4 separate regions of the Homo sapiens genome follow, and all the other regions are linked to region 2. Evidence: promoter capture Hi-C in 16 types of primary human blood cells and fetal thymus (Javierre and others, 2016). All regions are on one chromosome and are shown on one strand. The core of a region is centred on a gene start or on the middle of the fragment in contact, and the rest is flanking DNA. Distances in the headings are between cores, read along the strand shown.

Region 1 (3,437 bases), core at 177-2,676, 1.0 Mb before region 2:
AAATTTCTAATGAATATATTTTGAGAATATATCATCAAAGGCAAGAGTAAAGAAATTGTGTGTAAATAATGGACTGTAGGCAATATTTTGGAGTAATGAGGAGTGCAGTTGATAGAAAAGAAAATTCTAATGTGGAAGGCAGAGAATCACTACTGTTTCTTAAAGAGATGAGTGACATGGTGAAAATGGTGTTTGTACAAATGGCAGACAATTATGCACAAAAGGGATTACAGGAAGAGGAGAGAAGCTAGAAGACTTCTGTTTTGGGTGGTGGTTCTTTTTTTTTTTTTTTGAGACACAGTCTCACTCTGTCACCCAGGCTGGAGTGCAGTGGCACATTCTCAATTCACTGCAACCCCCACCTCCCGGGTTCAAGCAATTCTTATGCCTCAGCCTCCTGAGTAGGTGGGATTATACAGGTGTGCGTCATCAGGCCTGGCTAATTTTTTGTATTTTAGTAAAGATGGGATTTCACCATGTTGCCCAGGCTGGTCTCCAACTCCTGAGCTCAAGCAATCTGCCCACCTTGGCCTCCCAAAGTGCTAGAATCCACAGGCATGAGCCACCACGCCCAGCCTTAAAGCTAGAAGACTTTTGGATAGTTCAGGTATGAGGCAGTGTGGGTGGGGGCTTAGAGCTCCAAGAGAATGAGATGTAATGTGAATGAAGCCTGGAGAGGAGGAATCAACTGGACTTTGTGAATAACTCCATGAGAGAGGAGGAGGAGGCCCAAGAAGAAAGGAGGAAGGCAGAATAGAGGAGGAAGAAGATGACTACATTTTCAAAACTTTGGTCCAGGCAAGGTGACAGGGAAAAGAAACCTGTATTGACTTGTGGAAGGTTAGTTAGTTTTAGGCTCCTGGAATGTAAGATTAAAAAAAAAAAAAAAAAAAAAGGAAAGATTAAAAACCAGGCCAACAATTGGAGAACACAGTGATTTACAAAGGGTAGCTAGCCCACAGAGCCCTGCATCAGAATCCCCTGGGTGCCTGTTCAAATACAGATTCCAGGGCTCCTCTCCAGACCTACTAAATCACAGTTCCCAGTGCTGGGACCCAGGAATCTGGATCATATGAGTTCACAGAAGGGACATACTGAGCACACTGGCCTGTATCCCCTATTGAACCAGAGATGCACATATGCACACTCTGTATACCAAATCCCAAGTGGCTAAGCTTACCCAAGGTTATTGAAGTGGAAGCAGGATCCAAGCACTAAGGCTGGGGGTCTCAGTGGTTATGGGTTATGGGTTATGGATAGAGCAGCCAGTGAGGGATACAGAAAACAAGAAGTTTATAAACTTAGCATGAACCAGGATTATACATCACAAGAATGAGGACGTTTCTAGTGGAAGCATCATTGGATAGTTGAATGTTGGGTTTTGCCCCACCCCCCCCATTCTGAAGTACTAGGTGATTATACTGGAACCTTAACAGCTGACTAAGAATACAGTTTGAGCCTGCTGATACTCACTCTAGGCAATAACAAAGATCAATTGGCTAATAGTAGGTACAAGTAGTAAAACATTTAAGTCTTAATTTCCTCAAAGAGACAGCAGATCTTACCTCTCTCATTTTCATCATGTATTTAATAAACAGGACCCAAATGTACAAAACGTTTGTGTTAAAAAAATTAAGAAACATGTTAAACAGATAATACCTAATATTCTAAGCTTTGGGTGGCAGGGAAGGTGACTGGCCCTAAGTTTGCTTTCCCTTAAAGTTACACCGTTTCCTTTCCAATGTTGTTGTTTTTAACTGGTCATAATTTCCAAGATAACAGCTGACTACTGGGTTGTATTCCTCAGCTTAAGAATTGTAGGCAAGTGCTCTTCAGGATGTAGTGAAGGTCTCTGATGCAAATGCCCAAATGTTTTTGAATTAATGAATTATAAAAATCCGGCCGGGCATGGTGGCTCACACCTGTCATCCCAGCACTTTGGGAGGCCGAGGTGGGCAGATCACAAGGTCAAGAGATGAGACCATCCTGGCCAACATGGTAAAACCCCATCTCTACTAAAAATACAAAAATTAGCTGGGTGTGGTGGCATGTGCCTGTAGTCCCAGCTACTCGGAAGGGTGAGGCAGGAGAATTGCTTGAACCCAATAGGCGGAGGTTGCAGTGAGCCAAGATCGTGCCACTGCACTCCAACCTGGAGACAGAGCGAGACTCCATCTCAAAAAAAAAAAAAAAAACTAAAATAAAAAATAAATTTAAAAAATTCCAATCACCGCAAACCTTAAAACTGAAAAGTTTCTCACCGCAACAACAGCAATTTACACACCTGCTATGCTTTGCAATGTAAAGGCACAAGCGTTTCTCACAGATCTTTCTGTCAACCCTAAAAGGCAAGCAGGGTAGTTATTATCCCCATTTCATAAGAGAATGTGGGTTGTTCAAGGGCTGGGACTGGGGTTTGAATTCTGACCATCAGACCAAAATATCGTTCCATGACACCCAAAACACACAATTAATTAAAAAGAAATTTTTTTCACTCTGTAAAAATAATTGGACAGGAAGATTTGATTAATAAGTGTTTTACTTGCAATTAACACTATCAAATATGACAACAGGGGCAGCCTCAGTTTTTTTGGTAGATTGAAACTTAGACTTCTTGGTAAACAAAAACCTTCATGAGCTGTGTGAATGAACAGAGTTGATGGGGGGAGTGAAATCACAGCGTCAATAAAGAGATGTGAAATGTAAAGGCTTTATGCACCTTGGGTCCTAGCATGAGAAATTAACTCCTACCCACCTTTACAACCCAGGAATATACAGAGCCATTCCTAGAAGCAGTGAGGCTGGCCCATAGAGGCGATCATGTAGGAGGGCCTGAACAGCCACCAGGGGAAGAAGTGAGTGGAGGCTCATAATAGGAGTCCAGGGGTGTGTGTCACTCAGACCCACTGTTCTAGAATGATTCAGGTTAAACCTAGCTAGAGTAGAAGTGGCTAAGATTAAAAAGTTAATTACAGGCCAGGCGTGGTGACTCATGCCTGTAATCCCAGCACTTTGGGAGGCCGAGGCAGGCGGATCATGAGGTCAGGAGATCAATACCATCCTGGCTAACACGGTGAAACCCTGTCTCTACTAAAAATACAAAAAAATTAGCCAGGTGTGGTGGTGGGCGCCTTTAGTCCCAGCTACTCGGGAGGCTGAGGCAGGAGAATGGCATGAACCTGGGAGGCGGAGCTTGCAGTTAGCTGAGATCACACCACTGCACTTCAGCCTGGGTGACAGAGCAAGACTTCGTCTCAAAAAAAAAAAAAAAAAGTTAATTTCAAAGAATAATCTCATTAATAGCTTCCTAAGACCCTGAGAACCCAAGACAACATTGTTTTGTGATACTGATTGCGCTGAAGAGCAGCATGAGAAGACATCACGGTGTAGAAGTTATTTCTGAAATCGCCCCCATGTGAGCAAACCCTGTCTCACCA
Region 2 (3,173 bases), core at 41-2,540:
CTCTTTTTCCTCTTGTTTCGTTAACAGGATACCTAAACGGACCATTACCTGCGACAACGGGACATGCGCGGATAGCTATCTGAAGTACAAATTTGTCATTTCCAAAATACTGGTTCTTTTTCTAAAGAAGTAGTAAAAAAGAAAGAAAAAAAAGAACCAGTATTTTGGAAATGACAAATTTGCTTAGTCGCCCAGGCTGGAGTGAGGTGGCATTATCAAAGCTCACTGCAGCCTCAATTTCTTGGGCTCGAGGGATCATCCCATCTCAACCGCTCCAGTAGCTGGGACCATAGGTGTGCGTCACCGCATCTGGGTAATTATTTTTTAAATTTTAATTTTTTTGCAGAGACCAGGTCTATGTTGCTCAGGCTGGTCTCGAACTCCGGGCCTCAAGAGAGTAAAATCATAAAGTGCTGGGATTACAGGAAACGCAGCGGACCCAAATTCTGTTCTTTACTCATACCTAGCAGCTCCTCTGGTTGCCTGAGGGACCATGTCTCAAACACTATCATGTCGTATTAATTTTTCTTTTTGTTTAAAAGCTGAAAGTGAGAGTACAGTAGGACGTCTCCGGGCTCCAACTACGTCCTATAAGCATGCATCCTTTATTCTGAATGCGTGTGAAATAAAGTTTGAAAAGAATAACCACAGACATACTTGTGACCACAAGCCACAAGAAACGTAGTCAAAAGTGCACTCTCAGTGCTGCTGCCGACCGGGCACGGCGCTGGGCCTGCATTTGCGCTTTCCTGGAGCCTCAGTGTCTCATCTGTACAACGTTGATAATCGTCGGCAGCACCTCTTTCCCAGGGTTGCTCTGAAGGGTTTTCTTTGGGGTGAACCGCCAGGCGGTCGGCCTCCCAGGAGCGGGGGGAGACGCCTTCCTTACGCGACGCACTTCCGTGCGCGAGGAGGGAAGATCGTGGCTGAGTGCGGGTGGCCTGGGCGGAAGGCTCAGCGGGGACAGGTTGGGCCGCAGCTTTGCTGTGCTGTGCCGTGCGACGCCCTCCGCAGGAGCGCGCAAAGTGTTAGCCACGGCGCCAAGCAAGCTGGACGTGCGTGCATGAGCGCGCTCGGACTGACAGGGAAGCGAAAAGGGGGCCAGGGCGCACCATAGAAAAGCCGCGGCAGAAACGTACGACACAGCCCGAGGCGGCGGGGGCGAGAGCTCCGGGGCAGGGACGGCGACGCGGCGTACCCGGTTTGGCGCCCCTGCGCGGCGGTCGGCCGTCCCGCAGCGCCCCAGGTGGCCGCCGGCGGGGTCGCCGCCGGGGGAGTGGATTTGCTCCGCCTCCGCCGGGCTCGGCTGCCCTCGGCAGCTTCCCCGCCTGGCTCTCCCTCGACCCTCCTCCCCTCCCCCTCCCGGTTCGCGATGGACTGGGCCTCCCCGCCGCGCCGCCGCCGCCGTCGCCCGCAGCACCGCGCGGGCCTCTGAGTTGCAGGGCCTGAGGAGCCGCGTGCTGGGGACTGGACGTCCGCTGGCTGCTGCCGCACGCGAGAACCTCTCGCTTCCCTGTCACCAGGTCCTCGCGGAGGAAGGGGAGGGACGAGGCGCGGCTTTTCCTGTGCCGCCTGCCCGGTTCGACCTGCGCGGCCTGCGGCTTCTTGGGAACTCTAGGGCCGCGGCCGGGCCTGGCTCTGCCGGCGGCCTGTTGGGAGCTGGATCGGAGCGGTTTGGAACGACAAGCCCGAGTAAGAGCCTGCGGGAAGGGGAGGCGGGAGCGCCTCGGACCGTCGGAAGGGCCCTGCGTGGGGGCGCGGATCCCGGACGCCCGGCGAGTGGCGGAAAGCGAGACCCCGGCGCCGAGTGAGGTCGGCCAGGCTGCTGCCGACTTCCCCGCTGGCCCCTTTGTTCCCCTCCCGGGGCCCTGCCGGCGGCGGGGCCCGGTTGCCCGCGCCAGAGCCTCAGGCCGGCTCCTTTTGCCCTTGAGAAGGGTTCGCTGCCAGGCCTTCGAGTTCCGGGCGCAGCTCCCGGGAGAGCCGGCGCCCTGCCTGGCCCGGCGGCCTCCTCTCGGGCACGAAGGCTTGCTGCTGCTTCTCCAGAACTTCCCTTCCTCGTAGACACAGGTAGTTAACTTAGCGGGGTTTGGTGCTGGGGAACCACAGCGCGGGGGCCAGCGCCTCTCAGCGCCCGGCTCGGCCGGGCCCCGGGTGTGGGGTCAACCCCGCTGGTCGCCGCCGTTGGGTGCCCACCGCGCCCCGCCGCCGGCTTCCCACACTTGCGGCTGCGTTACGTGGGACCCAAAGCTGTCCTCCAGTCAGGGCGCTTACGGGGCGCTTTTGTAATGACTTACCTGTTGGGGTTGCTTCTCGGTTTTGTTTTTGTTTTTTTAACCAACTGCCCTATCTTGTGAAGCTGGGGAAAGAGGGCCCTAGGTTGGCCTACATTCGTTCGGATCCGTAACCTGCTGGTCCATTGCATTTACTTTTAGCCTTTCCTTTTTTAATTTTTTTATTTTTTTAACTTTTAAGAATAGTTGCCAAGACTGCCAAAATTCCTAACCAACTCTTTATTCATAGATAAATCTTGTATATAATTGTCGTTTGTATTTGGATATCTTTAAAATAGAAGTAAATTGAGAAGTCAGCAGAATATGTGAAATTGGAGGTAATTTTGAAGGAGAAACAATTTGGAGGGGGATTGGATCAAGGTGTTTAGAGTTTCCTCAAAATACTGAATCTAACCCTTATCTGAAGATCAGTTTTGGGTAGAGAAGGAGGGGGATGAAGTTTGCTGGAAAAAACAGAACCTTTAGTTAGGTGTTCTTTGCCTTTTGGCATAGACTTTAGTGATAGCAGTAGTGGGACCTGAAGCTTGACTGACTGTCTTTGACACAGACAGCTCTGGTTTCTAGTTAAGCAGCAACCTAATCAGCTTATATACTCTTGTGCAAAACTGGTTTTCATTTGGTATGATATCTGTACGTTAAACCTGGCGGATAAGGAAAGTTGAAAAACTGCATTAAGCACTCTTACGTCCAAACGTACTTAGGAGTCTTTTTTAATTGCTAGGAGGACACTATGAAAATTTGGTTCTAGCAGATGTAAAGGAAGAAAAATTTAAGCCCAAGCTGTTCAGTCCCGGAATTTAAAGGACTTTTCTCCCTTTACTTTTCAAATTTAAGCAAAGAGACTTTTAAAAAACCATGGCAGATGTGGACCCAGATACATTG
Region 3 (3,299 bases), core at 153-2,652, 1.3 Mb before region 2:
GAAATATAATTTTAAGCTACACTAAAATATCATTTTCAGACACAGAGCAAAAAAAAATTTCATAACACAATCTATGGGGAAAGGCACATGAAATAGGCACTATTAAGTATTCCTGGTTGGACGGTAAATTAGTGCAACCACTGTGGAAAGCAGTTTGGCCATTTCTATTAAATTCCAAATGCATATACTATATATATTGACTAGCAATTCTACTTCTGAGAATTTATGTATGCAATATGTTTACATTTTTTGTGAAATGACTTATGTTCAAGCTTATTTATTGCAATACAGTTTGTAATATCCAAAGATTGGAAACAGACTAAATGTTCATCAGTATGGTACATTTATTCAGTAGAGCACTACACAACTATAAGAATGAGGATAATAAGAAGACTTTATATTCTGACGCAGAAAGATCTTCATGGTGTATAAAGTTTAAAAAGCAAGGTGCAGAACAGTATGTATAGGATAAAACAGGAGGAAAACTAAGAATATATATTCACATTTGCTTATAAATGCATATACAAATTCTAGAAGAATATGCAAGAAGAGAAGAATGAGTACCTACAAAGTTGGGTTACAAAAGGGAGAAACTGTTAGAAAGGCCAGCTCTCTGCATTGGAGTATAAAAGGTGGCGTTTTCACTGTATATCTTTTCATATTTTTAAATTTTTGGCTCTGTAAATGTATTTCATATTCACAAATATAAGACAGACAGCAACAAAAACTCTAAACCAGTTTGCCGTGGGTAATTTAAAGCTAAAGGGCAGTGGTCCAATTAAACTGTCTTCAATAAAAGCTGCTCTTGATGGACACTTGTGTTATAATCAGTAATCCATGGAGAGCAGTCACTCTTTACCACCAGTCTCCTTTGAGGAATATTTATCTCATTTCTCCATCTAAAATATCTCCTTTCATTTAAGAAATAAAACAGCTTATCCAAGCACTTCAGTTCAATAATTTCACCATTAAGAGCACTTCTGTTACTATTCTTCTAAGCACTTTTAAAAAGCTAAAAACTTCAATTGAACAGACTGTTCATTATAACATAAAATACAATTTATACATTGATTGAAATGGCTTGATGAGGACCTTAACAATCTTTTGCTTTGAATGAGGAGCTTCAGTATGAGGAAGGAAAAGGCCCACTCAAAATGATAATGCAATGCTGAAAATAGTACTATTAGTTAAACGATCCAGTAATAAGGCATATTTGCTTCATTATACTGGGCGCTTATCATTTTCTAAAACAGAAGTAATAGGATACTGTCATTAAGTCAGAGTACAGCCTAGGAGAGCCAATGTGATAAAATATTGAAGACATAGGTTTACTGCAAGAGCTGCATCTACATGCACAGAGTTAAAGGGGAGGTTGAAGGACAAATAAAGGAAAGAAAGAAGGGCAGTCTGATGGAAGAAATATCACTCCAGAGAGTGAAGACCTCGCATCTACTTACATTTTCTCATTAACAAGAGTGTCAGTTAATCTGCCTGGGCATCAATTTCCTGATCTGTAAAATATGGTAATAATAATACCTTATGCTGTGGTAAAGACTCTACTCTGTACTCGCCAAACCTATTTTTTTTTCCTCCTGGGCACACAGCTAAATGACATTTTCCAGGTGCCCTGGGCAGTTAGTTAGATCAGGTCATATGGACTAAATACTGGCCAATGGAACGTGGGTAGAAGTGATATACTTTGGTGCCAGGTTGAATCCTTAAAACTTCCTTTGAGATATTTTATGTACTCTCTTTTCCTTGTCTGCTGACTGGATTCTGAAGATCGAGGATTCTGAGGTCCTAGAAAAATGAACCTCTAGATCTGTACTGTCCAATGTGGTAGCACTTGAAATGTTTTTGCTAGTCCAAATTGAGATGTATTCTAAGTATAAGATACACACTGGATTTCAAAAACTTTGTGTGCAAAAAAGAATTTGAAATTGTTTATTAATAATTTTATATTAATTACATGTTAAAACAATATTTTGGACAAATTGGGTTAAATAAGAGATATTAAAATTTATTGTGTTTTTACTTTCTTGATTTAGAAAATTTAAAAATCGCAAGTATGATTCATTTGTGGCTTCTACTGTATTTTTATTGGACAGGGTTGCTTAGGAGGGAAGGAACCTCAGTCCTTGAATAACTGATAGAGCAGAGCTTTCCAAATACTTTGGTGTGCCACAGGCTAGAATGCACTTGCAATGGGAAACTTCAGGGCTTGACCTTTGTTCTTTAAGAGTCCATTTGAAGGTTCCCTGTATACATACCTGCCCCAGTTAAGGTAAAGGAAAAAGGAACTTGTTTATACCAAGTCAGGATAAAGGGAATGGGGGAAGGTATCTTATGATATGGTGGTGACTATGACCATCATACCTGTAGACACTAGAAACATCTGGCATAACTAGCAAAGAAAAAGAGAAAAGGTTGGGAGACACAAAGATCAGTCAAGAATACACAGCCCTTTTGATACAGACTTTTCCCCATATATGGTAATTAAGACTAAAGTACAGAACTTCTCAGGGAAGCTTCTGTACTCAAATCTTCACCATTCTAAGTAGTATTAGCACCTACACTGGCAACACCATACCAATTCTGGGTAGATATGCTGCATGAACACAACTTCAACCATTGGCACCTATGCATCCCATATAGTAAGTGTGCCCTCCTTCCAACCAGGGACTCTGGGGAAGTATGCTCAGCGTCACAGAGTGACAGAAGTATAGGAAGTGATCATTGGTTCACTATTGTATTATCCCTCTGTCCTTGTAATAAGAATCACATTCAGACATAATGCAATATTCATTTTAAGCTAGATGTCAATAAATAATCTTATCAAGTAAATACTTCATGGCAATCTGCCAAATGAACAGGTCATGGGTTATGTGTGGGTAACTACTTCTCTACAAAGCACATTCAAGTATTTTGTTAGCAAGATCATTGCTTAAAATAATCTGTTTATATTTCCTGCTGATAACTTCATGGATCATGCTGATGAAACATGTTAAGTGAGTTTTCCTTCCCTCTTCTCGTCTCTCTTTTCTTGAAAGTAAAGACCTAGTCTAACTGGATAAAGTACAAAGATCCTGGAAAAAAGAATCAAAATCTGAGTTTTGGGTGTTTCTTAGACATATCAATTACAATTAGATTTTTATAGATAAGAGCTAAATATAGATATATTGTTTTGGTACATACAAATACAAATTCTTACTGCAAAGCTTTAGTTTTTTTAATCAGGTACATATGTACATATTTAACAAGTTCTATTCCTAATAATAGGTCTTTGGTATGAATGAGTA
Region 4 (3,110 bases), core at 301-2,800, 1.3 Mb before region 2:
AATAAAAACAGTTTATACCATGGATGGAGGTACATGTCTCAATGAACAATAACTGTGCAATGAAGATATTAGCTATAGCCCTGGTGGGGGGTACAGGATTCCACCTACCCAAATTGGGTGAGAGAATGTTGAAAGGGTTTACAATGAAAATTGAGTAAATGTATAATACACTTAGGAGAAAAGACAATGGCCTATGAAACTAAGTCTCAGCTCTCGCCATGGACTTGGATTCCCCCACTGACAAGAAAGACTTAAACTATTAAAAGGTTCAGCCTGCTAATTCACAGTTTAGGAAGTAGCACTATGATCTTGCTTTTGGTCCACAATTTCTTATTACTACCACCGTCCATAAACGCATTACAGAACTGGTCATGGATCAGATGACTTCTACTATCTTTAGCTGTGTGACTATGAAACACTAGGAAAATGTAGAAATACAGAGATAATGACATAAGCCTAACCCATGGTACTTAGTGCTAACTTTGGCAGTACATTTTATGATTATGGAGACAATCTTGGTGTTTATTATTTAAAATTATTGAAACGTTTTTAAAGAATCCAAAATACAAAACTGCCTTGAAGTTTTAATTTGAAATGTTGAATGGATATCGGCCATGATTTTAATAAAGGTAAGAATTTGATTAATTTTGTAATATGAAAGAACCTAGTTTATCATAGTTATAAATTTGGTTTATTACATTTTCAAAACTGGCCTAAGTTCACTGAAAGATTTGGCCTAGTTAGGTTTCTAAGTCTATCCTCATGTATCTAAAGTATTTGAGATTATTAGATGGATTAAAGGTCTTAGGAAAATTAACTAAATTTGTGAATGACATTCATTTGTTAAACTTATGAACTAATTCAACATTAACCAAAAATCAAATGGCTGTTACTGCTCTTGTAGTAAACTAACTAGATTTTTAAATAGAAGAAAGAGATGGGTAAAAGAAAATTTAGACTTAAGAAAAATCAAGCTTTAAATTTTCCAATTTATTCATAATTCTAGCTCTAAGTATTGCTTTCTACTTCAATTGTCAGGAATTATTTAAGCCTACCTCTATTGTCTGTTCAAACTACGATTCTATCATACCGAACTTAAATATTTTGTTGGCATTTGCATGCCCTAAAATTTCAGAGCTGGCAGTTTTCCTCTCAGCTGCTTTAAATGGCTCCCTGATTACTTTCCCCAGAGATGAAGCTGACAGATCCAGTGGGAAAGGACTGTGCCTTCTTTGTTCAGTTGCTGATGTGAGCCCTAACGACAGCAGTGATACAATTTACATTCAATAAGCCATGAGTCAGAGAATATCATCTAACTTTTTATGAGAATAAGATACTGTAAATTCAAACTTGTAATGAAAGACCTTACTCTTGGTTTGACTGCTGTTCAGTCTTCTGGCAGGGATGGGTAGGGTGGGATACAAGAAATGCCTGAAACATTGCTTCTCAAATCTTAATGTGCATCTGAATCACCTGGGGATCTTGTTAAAATGCAGGGAGACAAGAATCCTGCATTTCTAACAGTTCCCAGGTGTGGCCCAAGCGTCCAGTCCACAGACCACACTTTGAGTAGTAAAGCTCTAAATATCAAATAGCCTAGTTGATGTTTTGTGGGTTTTTTAGTGATGAAGATTCTGTTGAGGGTGGAGGAAAGGGAGTGATGGTATGTAAGTGCTAACCCTGGATCTAATATGACATCATTTTATATTAGTAATTATATTCAGAAGACTTGATGTTTTACCACTTAATATTTGTTCATTGGAAGAGCAACTGAACTTAAAGCAAATCAGTAATTTCCCAACATCTACAGCCTATTTTATTAGAAAATAAAAAGATAAACATCTGATTTGAAAAGCGATAAAATATGTCATATATGCATGTCAAGCATCAGTTCTGATCTTTAGGTAACTGAAGGCATAATCTTTCATTTTGGAAACAGACATAATGCAATCTCTGTATCATAACTTTAGAAACATCTCCGAGCAGCATGTCTGGCTGACGAGCCAAGACAAGTATAATAATAAAAAAAAAAAATTTGTGACATTAAAAATATCAGATCTCAAAAAAAAAAAGACATTCTTTTAACTAGCGAGGCAAAGAAAAATGGGAAAGCTATAAAAGCTTGTTTCTTTATCAACAGTAGGTGGTGCTACAATACAAGTAAACAGTAAATGTACAGCAAGTACTTTTCTTGTCAGCATTCAAATAATGATTTAGTTATTATTACACTTTCTTACAGATCAAGATCAAAACTGTCTTGACTTTATTATACAGATTATTGGACATGTTTTCAAAAGTTTTCTACTACCAAGAAACGCTAGGAATCTACTGGTAGTTTAATATGTCAAATAATCTAACTTTTTTTAAATGTATAAACTTTTGTGTGCCTATCTTGTTTTTAATTCTTCTTAAATTACTTGGGGGAATGCTAGTGATCATAGTTTGTTATACACTGGCATACCAAGGAGGTTGTGAAAATCTCCTCCGTTGGAGACTGTTGAAAAGCAACACAAAACCCTCTATTGCTTTCACAGGACTTCTTCAAAGCAAGTTGATGAACTTTACCAGGCAATGCCTAGAAATTATTTCCTGGCACAAAGTCTAGTGGCAGGACAGGAAAACACTTCCCCAGAGTTGCAACAGTTCTCACAGTACACCCCATGAGTCAGGGAGGTATGACAAAACAGACGAGGGATCAGCAAATTTTCTAGTGGAATGCCTAGTTAATACCTCTTCCAATAGCATTCATTACTGTAGAGTTTAGGACAGTTTTTCACACATTCCACTAGGCAGAGATTAATTTGGACTAAACCTACCTATTATTCATATATTATTAATAATCACTTAAAACAGATGCTCTAAAATCAGTATCCTAGAAATAATAATTTTGATGAAGGTGGAATAAGATTGTTAGAGCAAAGGGGGGCAAGTCCAATTAGAACGCAGGACATTTGAGGAATGGCAAGTCTTTGGAAGTGGTTGTGTTTCTGTCAGGGCTTTGATGAGACGAAAACAACATAAGGATATGGAGTACCTGGGAGAAAGAATGGAGGGACAAAGATGGGAGGAGGGAGGACAATAAAACATAACAAAAACAAAAATCCTGATTT

The links. The method cuts DNA at HindIII sites, captures the fragments that hold promoters and counts their contacts. A CHiCAGO score of 5 or more calls a contact.
Region 1: a contact is called between a fragment that was not itself captured here and the fragment with the promoter of HECTD1 in region 2, in 1 of 17 cell types (fetal thymus). The highest score is 6.6, in fetal thymus.
Region 3: a contact is called between a fragment that was not itself captured here and the fragment with the promoter of HECTD1 in region 2, in 1 of 17 cell types (M0 macrophages). The highest score is 7.2, in M0 macrophages.
Region 4: a fragment that was not itself captured here is called in contact with the fragment with the promoter of HECTD1 in region 2 in 1 of 17 cell types (M0 macrophages); the score reaches 6.0 in M0 macrophages.

What each region holds. Positions count from the first base shown.
Region 1 is chr14:32,210,635-32,214,071 of GRCh38, reverse strand. No RefSeq gene overlaps it. Among named protein-coding and RNA genes, the nearest start is that of RNU6-8, 9.1 kb to the right of the region's middle. The HindIII fragment of the contact is 497 bases long and covers 1,178-1,674 here.
Region 2 is chr14:31,205,910-31,209,082 of GRCh38, reverse strand. HECTD1 (HECT domain E3 ubiquitin protein ligase 1) reads left to right here and starts at 1,290. Exons shown (of 43, transcript NM_015382.4): 1 at 1,290-2,067; 2 at 3,126-3,173. The coding sequence starts at 3,147. RefSeq lists enhancers at 349-860, 714-883, 861-1,372, 1,885-2,398 and silencers at 1,064-1,403, 1,704-1,913, 2,034-2,243. The HindIII fragment of the contact is 4,913 bases long and covers 1-2,816 here.
Region 3 is chr14:32,499,870-32,503,168 of GRCh38, reverse strand. The region is part of intron 2 of AKAP6 (A-kinase anchoring protein 6); the gene reads right to left. Among named protein-coding and RNA genes, the nearest start is that of AKAP6, 170 kb to the right of the region's middle. The HindIII fragment of the contact is 2,256 bases long and covers 275-2,530 here.
Region 4 is chr14:32,468,638-32,471,747 of GRCh38, reverse strand. All of the region lies in intron 2 of AKAP6 (A-kinase anchoring protein 6), which reads right to left. Among named protein-coding and RNA genes, the nearest start is that of AKAP6, 140 kb to the right of the region's middle. The HindIII fragment of the contact is 1,147 bases long and covers 977-2,123 here.